Linked DNA regions of Homo sapiens: region 2 is linked to region 1. Evidence: promoter capture Hi-C in 16 types of primary human blood cells and fetal thymus (Javierre and others, 2016). All regions are on one chromosome and are shown on one strand. The core of a region is centred on a gene start or on the middle of the fragment in contact, and the rest is flanking DNA. Distances in the headings are between cores, read along the strand shown. Region 1 holds the start of MSI1 (musashi RNA binding protein 1). Region 2 has its middle 5.2 kb from the start of COX6A1.

What was found. The method cuts DNA at HindIII sites, captures the fragments that hold promoters and counts their contacts. A CHiCAGO score of 5 or more calls a contact.
Region 2: a fragment that was not itself captured here is called in contact with the fragment with the promoter of MSI1 in region 1 in 9 of 17 cell types (megakaryocytes, endothelial precursors, M2 macrophages and 6 more); the score reaches 18.1 in megakaryocytes.

Annotation. Positions count from the first base shown.
Region 1 is chr12:120,366,833-120,372,937 of GRCh38, forward strand. MSI1 (musashi RNA binding protein 1) reads right to left here and starts at 2,332. Exons shown (of 15, transcript NM_002442.4): 1 at 2,201-2,332; 2 at 2,001-2,041; 3 at 1,360-1,441; 4 at 1,176-1,260. The coding sequence starts at 2,259. It also overlaps the pseudogene RPS27P25. The HindIII fragment of the contact is 14,859 bases long and covers 1-3,817 here.
Region 2 is chr12:120,429,642-120,436,125 of GRCh38, forward strand. No RefSeq gene overlaps it. Among named protein-coding and RNA genes, the nearest start is that of COX6A1, 5.2 kb to the right of the region's middle. RefSeq lists a silencer at 3,851-4,051. The HindIII fragment of the contact is 5,474 bases long and covers 1,798-6,484 here.

The DNA.
Region 1 (6,105 bases), core at 1,082-3,581:
CCATCCCCCAGCCCCTAAATCTCAGCTTCCTCAGCACTGCAGAAGCCATCAGTGCATTCTGAGGACAGGGGATGGTAGCAGAACAGGCAGCTTGATGGCAGATAATCACCAAAAACAATAGGCCACTGTCTCTCCATTTCCAGGCTTGGGTCACTCAGGCTGCGCCAAGAAGATCCTTTCAGAGCCGGCAAAGTTGAGGCCTGGCCTCATTTGCTCATTACTGCGAGCGGGAGCGGGAGCCACTGGGCAGAGATAACAGGAGCTGGGGACAGGCGGTAATTTGACAAATTCTTGGGCACAAGCAGCTATTGTTGCAGGTAAACGGGAGCCAGGGACTGACCCAAGCAGAGAGGCCCAAGGCTGGGGGACAGCAGGGAAGCATGGAGAGAAGAGATCCACACTATCCCTGCCCCCAGCAGACAGACACCCCCATCACATGGGAGTAACCCCCTCCTCTGACTTTTCTACTTTTCCATCTGCCCTGGAGCCAGCGCCCCCTGCAGGGTCTAAGACACGAAGGAGCTGTGGGACAACAGCAAAATGTTCCATGAGTTTGAATGCCAACCAAGCAGCTTCTCCTAAGATCTAGTCTTCCGAAGGGTCGTTTCCAGGCAAGCTAGAGCCTTTCTCATAAATCCCCTCCGTGGGCAAAGCAGGTCCCTGTCTTCCACACAAAGCAAGGAGCTCATTGACCAAAAGTCGGGGGAGGAGGGAAGGAGAGAGGGAGGGGGCTTCAAGGGATGCTTTGCCATTGGTCTGGATGAAGAGGGGGTGTCGCAGAGCCAAATACTAGTTAGAGTTCACAGAAGCCACCGGGTGGGTCAGTGCTACCCTGACTCACCCAATTTGGGCTGGGGGAGGGACCTAGCCCCACCCCAAGCTCTGCTCTGAGGCATCATGATTAGTACTTCTAGGGAGAGGGTGGCGGCTGCCTCTCCCCTCACCAGGACTAGGGGAGGGGGGATGTAGCATCTCATGGCAGGCCAGGGATTTTTCTCCTCCCTCTCCCCCCCAACTCTAGTGACAAAGTTTCAGAGCATGGCAGCCCTCTTACTCAGAAAAACTCCCTCCTTCCTCATGGACCCCGTCCAGCTGTCCCCTGGGGAGAGTCCTGACCCTCTCCTCCGGCAGCCTCCCTCTCCCAAAGGACCCCCGAAGCCCCGAGGGCCACTCACTGTTTTGGAGTCGAGCTCGTGCCGCGATTGCGCCAGCACTTTATCCACCCCCGCCTGGTCCATGAAAGTGACGAAGCCGAAACCCCTGCGCGCCGTAGTGAGGGAGAGGCAGATGGTTACAAGGCAGTGAGTGGCGGGTGGAGGGGGGCGAGCCGGGAGCAGGAGGAGGGGGTGAGGGGCTCACCTGGATCTCTTGGTCAGGGGGTCCCGCATCACCAGACACTCCTTCACCTCCCCGAACTGGCCGAAGTATTCGCGCAGCCCTTCTGTAACCACACACCCGCCTTCGGACCAGCCCGGGCCCCGCGCCCTTCCCCCCCCCCCGTCCTTTGCCCCCGGTGACCCCGGAGCGGCCCGGCCGCCCCCGCGCCAAGCTGCCCGCGCGTTCTCCACTGCCGCCGCCCCCCACCGCCCTCGCCCCGTTCCCGCTGAGCCTCCTGGCGCCCACCGGGGCCCCGGGAAGCCGAGGGCCGAGCTGGGCTGGAAGGGGGACGGCTCCGGCCGGGTTCCCGCCGCTCCGGGAGCAGCCTCACAAAAGTTTGAGCCGCAGGTGCGAGCGGAGTTGGCGCTGCCGCCGGCGGGTCCCGGGGGCCCAGCCCACCCCCCGATACCCCCTGAACCCCTCATCTGCTCCCCTCCACCCGCTGGGCCGGGTGCGCTCGCGGATCGCCCTGCGCTCTCGGGGTCTCCGGGCGGGGCGCGAAAGAGGGCGCGAGGGCGCCCGGGGTCAGCAGGGCGCAGGGCCGGGCTGGGGTGTCCGGGTCCGGGGCGCCGGGGGGTCCGGGGTGCCCTGCCGGACCGGCGGGCGCTCCCGGGCTCGCTCACCCTGCGTAGTCTGCCAACTGAGTCCCCCGATGAACATCTTGCTGCGGGAGGAGGAGAGACACAAAGGGCCCGCGTGAGCGCCGGGCGCCAGGGCGCAGGGGGCGCGGGCCCGGGCTCCGGGGAGGCCCGGCCGGACCCGGATCGGCCATGTTGGCGGGGCCGGGGCGGGCGCGGGCCAAGCAGGCCGGGCCGGGCCGTACCAGGGGTCGTGCGGCGAGTCCGGGGAGGCGAGGCCGGGCTGGGGCGCGTCAGTCTCCATCGGGAGCCGCGGGCGGCGCGGGCAGCGGAGCGGCGGCGGCGGCGGCGGCGGCGGCGCTCGGCGCGGGGCAGATGAGGAGCGCGGCGAAGGGGGCCGGACGGACAGGCCATGCTGCCCCCTCCCCCGACCCCGCTCGGGCGGGCGGGCGGGGACGGCCGAGGGGAGGGCCCGCCGGGGGCCGACCTGCCGGCTCCTCCCCCCGCCGCCCTGCGCGCATAAAGCCCCGCGCTCGCCCGCGAGCCCGGGCGCCCGCGGAGGCGGCGGCGCCGGGACCCCCTTCCCGCGGGGCTCCTGGGTCTCCGGGGCCGAGCGAGACCCCCGAATCCCGGTGCGGGCCGGGACCAGGGCGCGGCCGCACCCCCCACCCACCCCGGCGCGGGGGCCCGGCCGCGGGAACGCCCTCCCGGAATGAAGCGCTTCCCGGTGCCTTCAAGGTAGCTCGGTTCCGGATCGGGAACCCCCCCGGTCTTCCCTCTCAGGTCCCTGCTGTCCAGAATTGAAGAGAACCCCAATCTCCTCGGGTCGGGCGGGAGATAGCCCTAGTGCTCCCCAGTCCCCACATGCTCCATTTCCCCAGTCGGAGCGAGAAGCCGCCCTCAGAGCCCCCAGTTTCCTCCCAACCTAATTTACAGCCCCCCACCCCCACCCCAGGGCTCTAATTTAGAGCCCTCGCTCCGTTCCCAGGATCCCATATCCAGTTTGGGGGACCCACTCAGTGCCTCGCGTCCCGAGTGGGGAACCTCCATCAGCACCCCAGTAGAAACCGTATCCTCTTCCCCAATCCGTCCTCAGCCCTTGGTGTCCAAAGTGAGAGTCCCCCTTAGTTTCCCCAAATCCCTGCCGTCCACATTAGTGGACCCTATGGTCTGTTGAGAAAATCCCGCGCCCCAAGCCCGGGTTCTCAGTTTGCCGCCACCCCCACCTCCCGGTGTGAGGAGTCTCCCCTGGTTCTCTCCCTCCCTGGCCGGTTTTTGTGAGATCCATTCAGACTCCTGTCCTGATTCGGGAAACCCGGTTCCAGACACTCACCACCCCCACCACACCGAGGCTGGAGGAAAAGGCAGTGCCTCTTAGAGCCTCCTGTTTCCAGTTTAGGAGCCCAACGCCTCAGCTGTGCACCGTCCCCTCCGAATGACCCCCTTCTTTTGCAGAGGTCTAAGCTCCACCCCATCCCATTGGAAGAGCCTAAACTACCTACCCACTGCATTTGGAATGACTTCCCTCAGTCCCTCTTATTTTGAGGCTACTCCCCGTGAAGGCAAACACCTTCCTTTCTACCCCCATCTTCTGGGTCTCTGGGATCCCCCAGTACTTGCACCCAAGGCTCCTTGGAGTCACCTTACGTACCCCTAAAATTCCCTCCCTCCAGCCTGGGAACAACCCTGAGAAAGTATTCTGGTTCACCAGGGGAGCTGCGGGGCCACTCTCCTTATCCCCACCTCTCCTTATCCCCGCCTCTCCATATCCCCACCTCTCCATATTCCCACCTCTCCATATCCAAGCCTTAGGACCCTTCACTTCCCCAGCTGAAACCAGCCAAAAAAGGATCAAACCAGGAAGCTTAGGTGGCCAACACCCCTTCTCCCCATCCCTGCTGGGGGTCTCAGTGCCACACAAGCCCCTCCCTCCCAACTCACCTTCTACTCCTTCCCCCATCCCTACCTTAATCCATCCGGTGTAATCCAGTGACAACCCATGTTGACAAGCCCTTTGCTGTTCACCTTCACATTCCATCCTGAATTCAACACCTTTTATTCCTGGGCATCATAACTCTGACCTCTGGAAGGGTGCCCATCCCCCTCTTGATAGCCCTCCTTCCCTCTCCCCACCCCAACCATCAGGCAGAGAAGAAAGTGAGAGACTTACAGTAATGGTTTCCTTGGGGACCTTCTGGGAATGCTCAGCAGGTATATCCTGCCACCCTGTGAGCATAACACTAGAAACAAACTTGCTTTTTCCTGTTTGTGTCCCCTACTCTGCCCCACAGTTTCTCAGCATCCCCTGGACTGGGGACTGGAGGGCCACCCACACAAGGCATTTCTTACCATTCCGACACAAAAGCATTCCAGTTTGTGTTGTAGCAGAGACACAGATGAGGGTGAGCAGGTAGCCTCTGCGGTATTAGGGAGGTGACTCTTCTTAGGTCTGAACTTAAAAAGGGTCATTGGAGAGGTGCGGGGAGTAGGGATCTTCCAGTGTTCCTGGACTTTGGTTTGTGTGCTGGTGCTGCTGGGCAGATGAGCTTGAAGGATAGGAAATGGGTCCTTTCCGGCAGTGGCGACCTACCCACGAGAACATGCCTCTCGACAGGGATCTCCTTCATCCTTCTCCAGAAGAGAAGAGGAAACAGAAGAAGAAACGCCTGGTGCAGAGTCCCGATTCCTACTTCATGGATATGACATGCCCAGGATGCTATAAAATCACCATGGTCTGTAGCCATGCACAAACGGTAGTTTTGTGTGTTGCCTGCTCCACTGTTCTCTGCCAGCCTACAGGAGGAAAAGGAAGGCTACAGAAGGATGTTCCTTCAGGAGGAAGCAGCACCCAAAGCACTCTGAATCAAGATGAGTGGGAAACCATCTCAATAAACACATTTTGGATTAAAAAAAAAAAAGGAAATGGGTAAAGGCATCTGTTCAGAGTCAGCCAATGCTGTGTAAGAAGTAGCTTGAGATAGGATCCATGTATTAGCATATTCATTCAGAATCTGAGGAGGAAGCGTCTACCTCTTTTGGTCAGTAGCTTGTTTGTATCACAGTAACATGGGTTAGACTTAGACAAATCCTCTTTCAGTGCAGGTGTATCTCAGCTGCAGCAGCTTCAGTCCACTTTGTTCACAATAGGGGCGACAAGCCCTTCTAGAGGTAGCCCTCACAGGACAATGCAGTTGTAAACTCATGATCCTCATAGTAAATTGAGGATCTCAGTGGTATTAAGGAAAAATGATCTTTAGAGCAACAGGCCCAGACTTCAGAATTAAGAGATTAGAGGATGTGGTTCCAGCTCTTTTTCTCTGGTACTACACACACAGAACATCACTCAAAGAATAAAAGAAGAATTTGCTTTATAGTTTTTAAAAAATCCTCTTGAGAAAGACAGTGGGCAAATGATATTATGCAACTTGGCACAGGTATTTACCGAACATCTTCTATGTACTAGACACTGTCCTAGGTGTTGTAGTCCCAGCAGCTGCCTTTGTAAAGCTTGCATTCTAGAGATGAGAGTCATACAAGTAAATGAATGAATGAATGAGTCAATGAATGAATGAGTGAATGAATGAATAAACAATAGATAAATAAATGGTGTGTTCAGTTAGATGTTGTAGGTGCCACAGAGAAGGAAGGGTGATAGGGAGGGTGGGTACTATTGGGAAGAAGGTGAGATGAAATTTTATATATATATATATTTTTGAGATGGAGTCTTGCTCTGTCACCCAGGCTGCAGTGCAGTGGCATGATCTCGGCTCACTGCAATCTCTGCCTCTTGGATTCAAGTGATTCTCCTGCCTCAGCCTCCCCAGTAGCTGGGGTTACAGGCATCCACCATCACTCCTGACTAATTTTTTGTATTTTTAGTAGAGATGGGGTTTCGCCGTGTTGGCCAGGCTGGTCTTGAACGCCTGACCTCAGGTGATCTGCCCACCTCTGCCCTTGAAAGTGTTGGGATTACAGGCGTGAGCCACCACACCTGGCCTGAGATGCAATTTTAAATCAACAACATTCTCATGGGGAGGGAGACGTTTTAGCAAAGACTTGAAGGAGATGAGGTAAATGAGTCTACTCTATGATACAGAACTCTCATTTAAGCAGAATGTCTGCATCTCTTAAGTACAATGATAATTAACGT
Region 2 (6,484 bases), core at 3,285-5,784, 65 kb after region 1:
GGAGGATGGATGTGGTGTCCCTAGGGATAATGGTGGAGATAGGCAGCGATGGTATTCCTTAGCACCTTGGAGGTCAGAGTAAGTAGTTTGAGTTCTATCCTGGGGGCAACAGGGTTTCAAACAGGGATGGTGGGATAGGCAGATTATACTTTAGAAGGATCTCCTGGCCAGGCAACCTGGCTCACACTTGTAATCCCAACACTTTGGGAAGCTGAGGCAGGAGGATCACTTGAATTCAGGAGTTTGAGACCAGCCTGGGCAACATGGTGAAACCCCATCTCTACAAAAAATACAAAACTTGGCCGGGCGTGGTGGCTCACACCTGTAATCCTAGCACTTTGGGAGGCCGAGGCAGGCGGATCACCTGAGGTCAGGAATTCCAGACAAGCCTGGCCAACATGGTGAAACCCGGTCTCTACTAAAAATACCAAAATTAGCTGGGCATGGTGGCGGATGCCTGTAACCCCAGCTACTCAAGAGACTGAGCAGAACTGCCTCCCAGGTTCAAGCGATTCTCCTGCCTCAGCCTCCCGAGTAGCTGGGATTACAGGCATGTGCCACCAAGCCCGTTTAATTTTTGTATTTTTAGTAGAGACAGGGTTTCGCCATGTGGGCCAGGCTGGTCTTGAACTCCTGACGTCAGGTGATCCGCCCGCCTCGGCCTCCCAAAGTGCTGGGATTACAGGCGTGAGCCACTCTGCGCCTGGCCGAGGTCTTTCTCTCAAAGCGATCACTAACCTGGCGCCACTGAACTCCAGCCTGGGCGACAGAGACCCTGTCTCTAAAGAAATTATTAAAAAAAAAAAAAAAAAAAAAAAAGGAGTCCTTGAGGCCCAGGAAGGGTCCTCTCCAGCCCTCGCACAAGCTCCACCTCCCCTCCTCCTCCAAGGATCCTGAGACCAGACAGCCACGTATAAGGTGGCGGGCGTGACTCCTCTGGCCAGGCTCGTGGGCGGCGCCCGCACATGCGGAGCCTGCCACCCACTGGGCGAGAGCGGTACTGCAGACGCGGGTGTCAAGAGTCGCCCCACCCGGTGGCTTTGCTGTAAATGTTCACTGAGCGCCTTTTCTGTTCCAGGCAGAAGGGGTCCCTGCCCTCATGTGGCTTACAATCTAATGGAACTAATACCAGCAACGGAAGTGCCGCTAGCGACTTGATTAAAACTTTTTTTTTTTTTTTTGAGACGGAGTTTCGCTCTTGCTGCCCAGGCTGGAGTACAATGGCGCAATCTCGGCTCACTGCAACCTCCGCCTCCCGGGCTCAAGCGATTCTTCTCAGCCTACTGAGTAGCTGGGACTACAGGCGCCCGCCACCACGCCGGGATAGTTTTTTTGTATTTTTAGTAGAGACGGGGTTTCACCGTGTTAGCCAGGATGGTCTCATCTCCTGACCTCGTGATCCACCCGACTCGGCCTCCCAAAGTGCTGGGATGAGAGGCGTGAACCACGGCGCCAGGCCAATTTTTGTGTTTTTAGTAGAGACAGGGTTTCATCATATTAGTCACAGGCTGGTATCGAGCTCCTGACCTCAGGTGATCCACCCACCTCGGCCTCCTAAAGTGCTGGGATTCCAGGTGTGAGTCACCATGCCTGACCTTTTTAAAATTTCTTTACAGCAATGCAAGAAAAAACTTTTTTTTTTTTTAATAGAGATGGGATCTCCCTATGTTGCCCAGGCTGGTCTTAAAGTCCTGGAATCAAGCAATCCTCCTGCCTCAGCCTCCCAAAATGTTCTGATTACAGGCATGAGCCACCACGCCTAGCCTATAGCAACTTTATAATCTGCTTTTTGATGAAAGCTTTTGTTCTTATAATACAAGTACTATACGTTCATGGTAGAAAATTTAAAAAGAAAATTTAAAGCCCAGACATAACTTCTGTCAACATGTGAGTGTAGCCCTTACGGAATTGTCGTGTGTTTTACAAAAATAGAAGTATACATTTAATATTTTGTAGCCTGCTTTCTTGTTTTTAACAGCTTTATTGAGATATAATGTAAGAGGGACCGATATCAATACATTCCAATATACCACCTTTTCACATACAATATATCTGCTTTGTTTTAAACTTAATGTAATAGTGGTTTATTAATAATAATATAACACAAATCACTGCTATAGGTTGAGGAAAGTGCTAAGTGCTTTACACACATCATCATGTTCAGTTCTCCCAAAAACCCTAACAGTAGGTACTATTATTTTCCTCATTCTGCAGATGAAGAAACTGAAGCATAAAATTACTTGTCCAGCAATAGCAGCAGAACCTGGATTTATTTTTATATTTTAAGATAGGGTTTTGGCTGGGTGTGGTGGCTCACGCCTGTAATCCCAGCATTTTGGGAGGCCGAGGCAGGTGGATCACGAGGTCAGGAGTTCGAGACCAGCCTGGCCAAGATGGTGAAACCCCGTCTCTACTAAAAATACAAAAATTAGCCAGGCAAGTTGGCGGGTGCCTGTAATCCCAGCCACTCGGGAGGCTGAGGCAGGAGAATCGCGTGAACCAGGGAGGCAGAGGTTGCAGTGAGCTGAGATTGTGCCACTGCACTCCAGCCTGGGTGACAGAGTGAGACTCCGTCTCAAAAAAAAAAAAAAAGATAGGGTCTCACTCTGTTGCCCAGGATGGAGTGCAGTGGCATGACCTTGGCTCACTGCAACCTCTACTTCCTGGACTCAAGCAATCCTCCACCTCAGCCTCGCAAGTAGCTGAGATTACAGGCAGGCATCACCATGCCCAGCTAATTTCTGTATTTTTTGTAGAGATAGGGGTTCGCCATGTTGCCTAGGTTGGTCTTGAACTCCAGGGTTCAAGTGATCCTCCTATCTCAGCCTCCCAAAGTGCTGAGACTATAGGTGTGAGCCACCTCACCCAGCCAGAGGTGGACTTAAATCCAGCTTTGTCTGAGAACCTGAGTTCTTAACCATTTTGTTATGCCTGGCCTGTGCCAGGCATTGAGAGAATTTAGAGGAATCCGAAAAAAAAAGGGGTCTCCTGGCCGGGCGCAGTGGCTCACGCCTGTAATCCCAGCACTTTGGGAGGCCGAGGTGGGCAGATCACCTGAGGTCAGGAGTTCGAGACCAGCCTGGCCAACGTGGTGAAACCCCATCTCTACTAAAAATACAAAAATTAGCCGGGTGTGGTGGCAGATGCCTGTAATTCCAGCTACTCAGAAGGCTGAGGCAGGAGAATTGCTTGAACCCAGGAGGCGGAGGTTGTAGTGAGTCGAGATCGTGTCACTACACTACAGCCTGGGTGACAGAGCAAGACTCTGTCTTAAAAAAAAAAAAAAAAGGTTAGGGGGTCTCCTGGGGCCTGAAGTGGAATGAGGAAGTGGAATAGTCATCATAAGAGGTACAGTGGGCTGAACATCACTGGGGGACCAGAGGCCAGGGTCAGGATGTAACCAGGAAAGGCTTCCTGGAAGAGGTGAGAACCGAGTGTGATGTGTGCAGACAGAGGTGGGGAACCACGTGGGGCTGGCCTAAGCAGAACCTCGGGTGTAGACGAGTGTATGAGCATCAACAGGGACCAGTAAGGAAAAATAACTGAGCACCAAATTCTATGGGGTCACAGAGATAGATGATACTGGGGGTCTGCCCTCTAAAGCTGACAATCTAGCTCGGCAGAAGGTTGAGAGGTGGGGGTAGGAACACAGAAATAAGTAATAGCTATCACTGTGCACACCCGCCCCCACGTGTCAGGCTTTCTACCTACATTGACACATTTAAGCTCACAACATCTCTGGAAGATCCAGTTATTAGCCCCATTTATGAATGAAGAAAGAAAGGCTCAGAGTAAAGCAGATTGCTCTAGGTCTTCCTAGCAGGAAGGGCTAGGGCCAAGGCTCAAACCTGGGTGGCTCAAGGTCTAAATCCAGTGTTCTAACCTGCACAGCTACGCTATTCAGCCTACCCCAGCTGGACCGCCCCCTCCCACTGCAAGGAAACCAACCCTGACACCCAGCCTTCTATGCCTTCTATGCAAACCTCTAGGTGCACTTCAGTCAGAAATCTTTTTTTTTTTTTTTGAGACGGAGTCTGGCTCTGTCGCCCAGGCTGGATCTTGGCTCACTGCAACCTCCACCTCCCAGGTTCAAGTGATTCTTGTGCTTCAGCCTCCCAGGTAGCTGGGATTATAGGTGCCCGCCACCACACCTGGCTAATTTTTTTTTAAGACGGTGTTTCACTCTTGTCGTCCAGGCTGGAGTGCAATGGCGTGATCTTGGCTCACTGCAACCTCTGCCTCCCAGGTCAAGAGATTCTCCTGCCTCAGCCTCCCAAGCAGTTGGGATTACAGATGTCTGCCACCACGTCTGGCTAATTTTTTTTTTTTTTTGTATTTTTAGTAGAGACGGGGTTTTACCATGTTGGCCAGGCTGGTCTAGAACTCCTGACCTCAGGTGATCCACCCGCCTCAGCCTCCCAAAGTGCTGGGATTACAGGTGTGAGTCACAGCGCCTGGCCTTTTTTTTTTTTTTTTTTTTTTTGACAGAGTCTCCTCTGTTGCCCAGGCTGGAGTGCAGTAGTGCAATCATGTCTCACTGCAAGCTCTGCCTCCTGGGTTCAAGCGATTCTCATGCCTCAGCTTCCCAAGTAGCTGGGATTACAGGTGTGTGTCAGCACACCCAGCTAATTTTTGTATTTTTAGTAGAGACGGGGTTTTGTCATGTTGGCCAGGCTGGTCTGAAACTCCTGACCTCAGGTGATCCGCCTGCCTTGGCCTCCCGAAGTGCTGGGATTACAGTCATGAGCCACTGCACCCAGCCTCTCTGGTGGTATCTTTTGGAAAGATATCTTTCTGGAAAACTCTTTCCATCCCAGCCCAAACTTGTCTCTGACTCACTCATTTATTTGAGGGTAGGTGACTTAGATGTCATATCCTACAGGAGGGCAGACTGACTGCCCCTCCAAAGCCAAATGCCATTTTGATCCTCTTCTATTGACCCTGTACCACCTCGATCAAGACAATTCTTTGTTTTTTTTTCTTTTATGGTCAAAAAATTTAAGACTAGTTCCAACTTGAAGTAGTTTTGTTTCAACAGATCAAGATAATTCCTTGTTTTTTTTTTTTTTGAGACAGAGTTTCACTCTTGTCACCCAGGCTGGAGTGCAATGGCACGATCTCTGCTCACTGCAACCTCCACCTCCCAGGTTCAAGCGATTCTCCTGCCTCAGCCTTCCAAGTAGCTGGGATTACAGGTGCCCACCATCACGCCCGGCTAATTTTTGTATTTTTAGTAGAGACAGGGTTTCACCATATTGGCCAGGCTGGTCTCGAACTCCTGACCTCAGGTGATCCACCTGCCTCGGCCTCCCAAAGTGCTGGGATTACAGGCATGAGCCATCGCACCTGGACTAGATCAAGACAATTCTAACAGTTAACAATTATTGAGCACTCATTTTGTGCCAGGCACTGTGCTAAGAGTGCAGTATCTCAGAGTGGTTAAACATGGAGGCTTTGGGGCCAGACTTCTAGATTTAAATTCTGGCTCTGGGTCAGGAACAGTGGCCGACACCTGTAATTCCAGAACTTTGAGAGGCTGAGGTGGGAGGATCGCTTAAACTCAGGAGTTTGAGATCAGCCTGAGCAACATAGTAAGACCCCGTCTCTAAAAAAAAAAAAATTAGCTGGATGAGGTGGTGTGCACTTGTAGTCCTAACTACTCAGGATGCTTGTTAGGTGCAGTGGCTCATGCTTGTAATCCCAGCACTTTGGGAGGCCGAGGCAGGTGAATCACTTGAGGTCAGGAGTTTGAGACCAGCCTGGCCAACGTGGTGAAGCCCCATCTCTACTAAAAAATTCACAAATTAGCCGCGTGTGGTGGCGCACGCCTGTAATCCCAGCTACTCGGGAGGCTGAGGCAGGAGAATTGCTTGAACCCAGGAGGTGGAGGTTGCAGTGAGCCAAGATTGTGCCACCACACTCCAGCTTGGGTGACAGAGCAAGACTCCATCTCAAAAAAAAAATTTGTTATACAAAGGAATGAATAAATGCATATTACATTATTACATTCCTATTGTAGAGAAGAGGAAGCATAGCTGGTGGCAAACCAGAGATTTGAACCCAGGAGTTCCTGATCCCTGTCTTGAACACTTTCTTTTTCTTTTTTTTTTAGAGATGGTGTCTTGCTATGTTGCCCAAGCTGGACTTGAACTCCTGGGCTTAACGGATCCTCTGGCCTCAGCCTCTCAAGTAGCTAGGACTACAAGCAAGCCCGGCTAGCTTAGACCCTTTGTATGGCCCCAGTGTGGGGCCTCATATACCCTTTGGCTGTGTTTGAGGACGTGTTTGACAGATTTGATGATCTTGATTGCACCCTGAAGTATAAAAACTTAGGCTACTCGAGAAAGATTTCATGCTAAATCAGGTAGTAAAGCTCTAGTAATATGATCCTAAGGTTTTGTCTTCATGAAACTGCATGACCTTAAGGCATCGGTTTCAGCTAACCTGCCCAAGGCCACACAGGCTGTAAGGGAACAAGATGTGA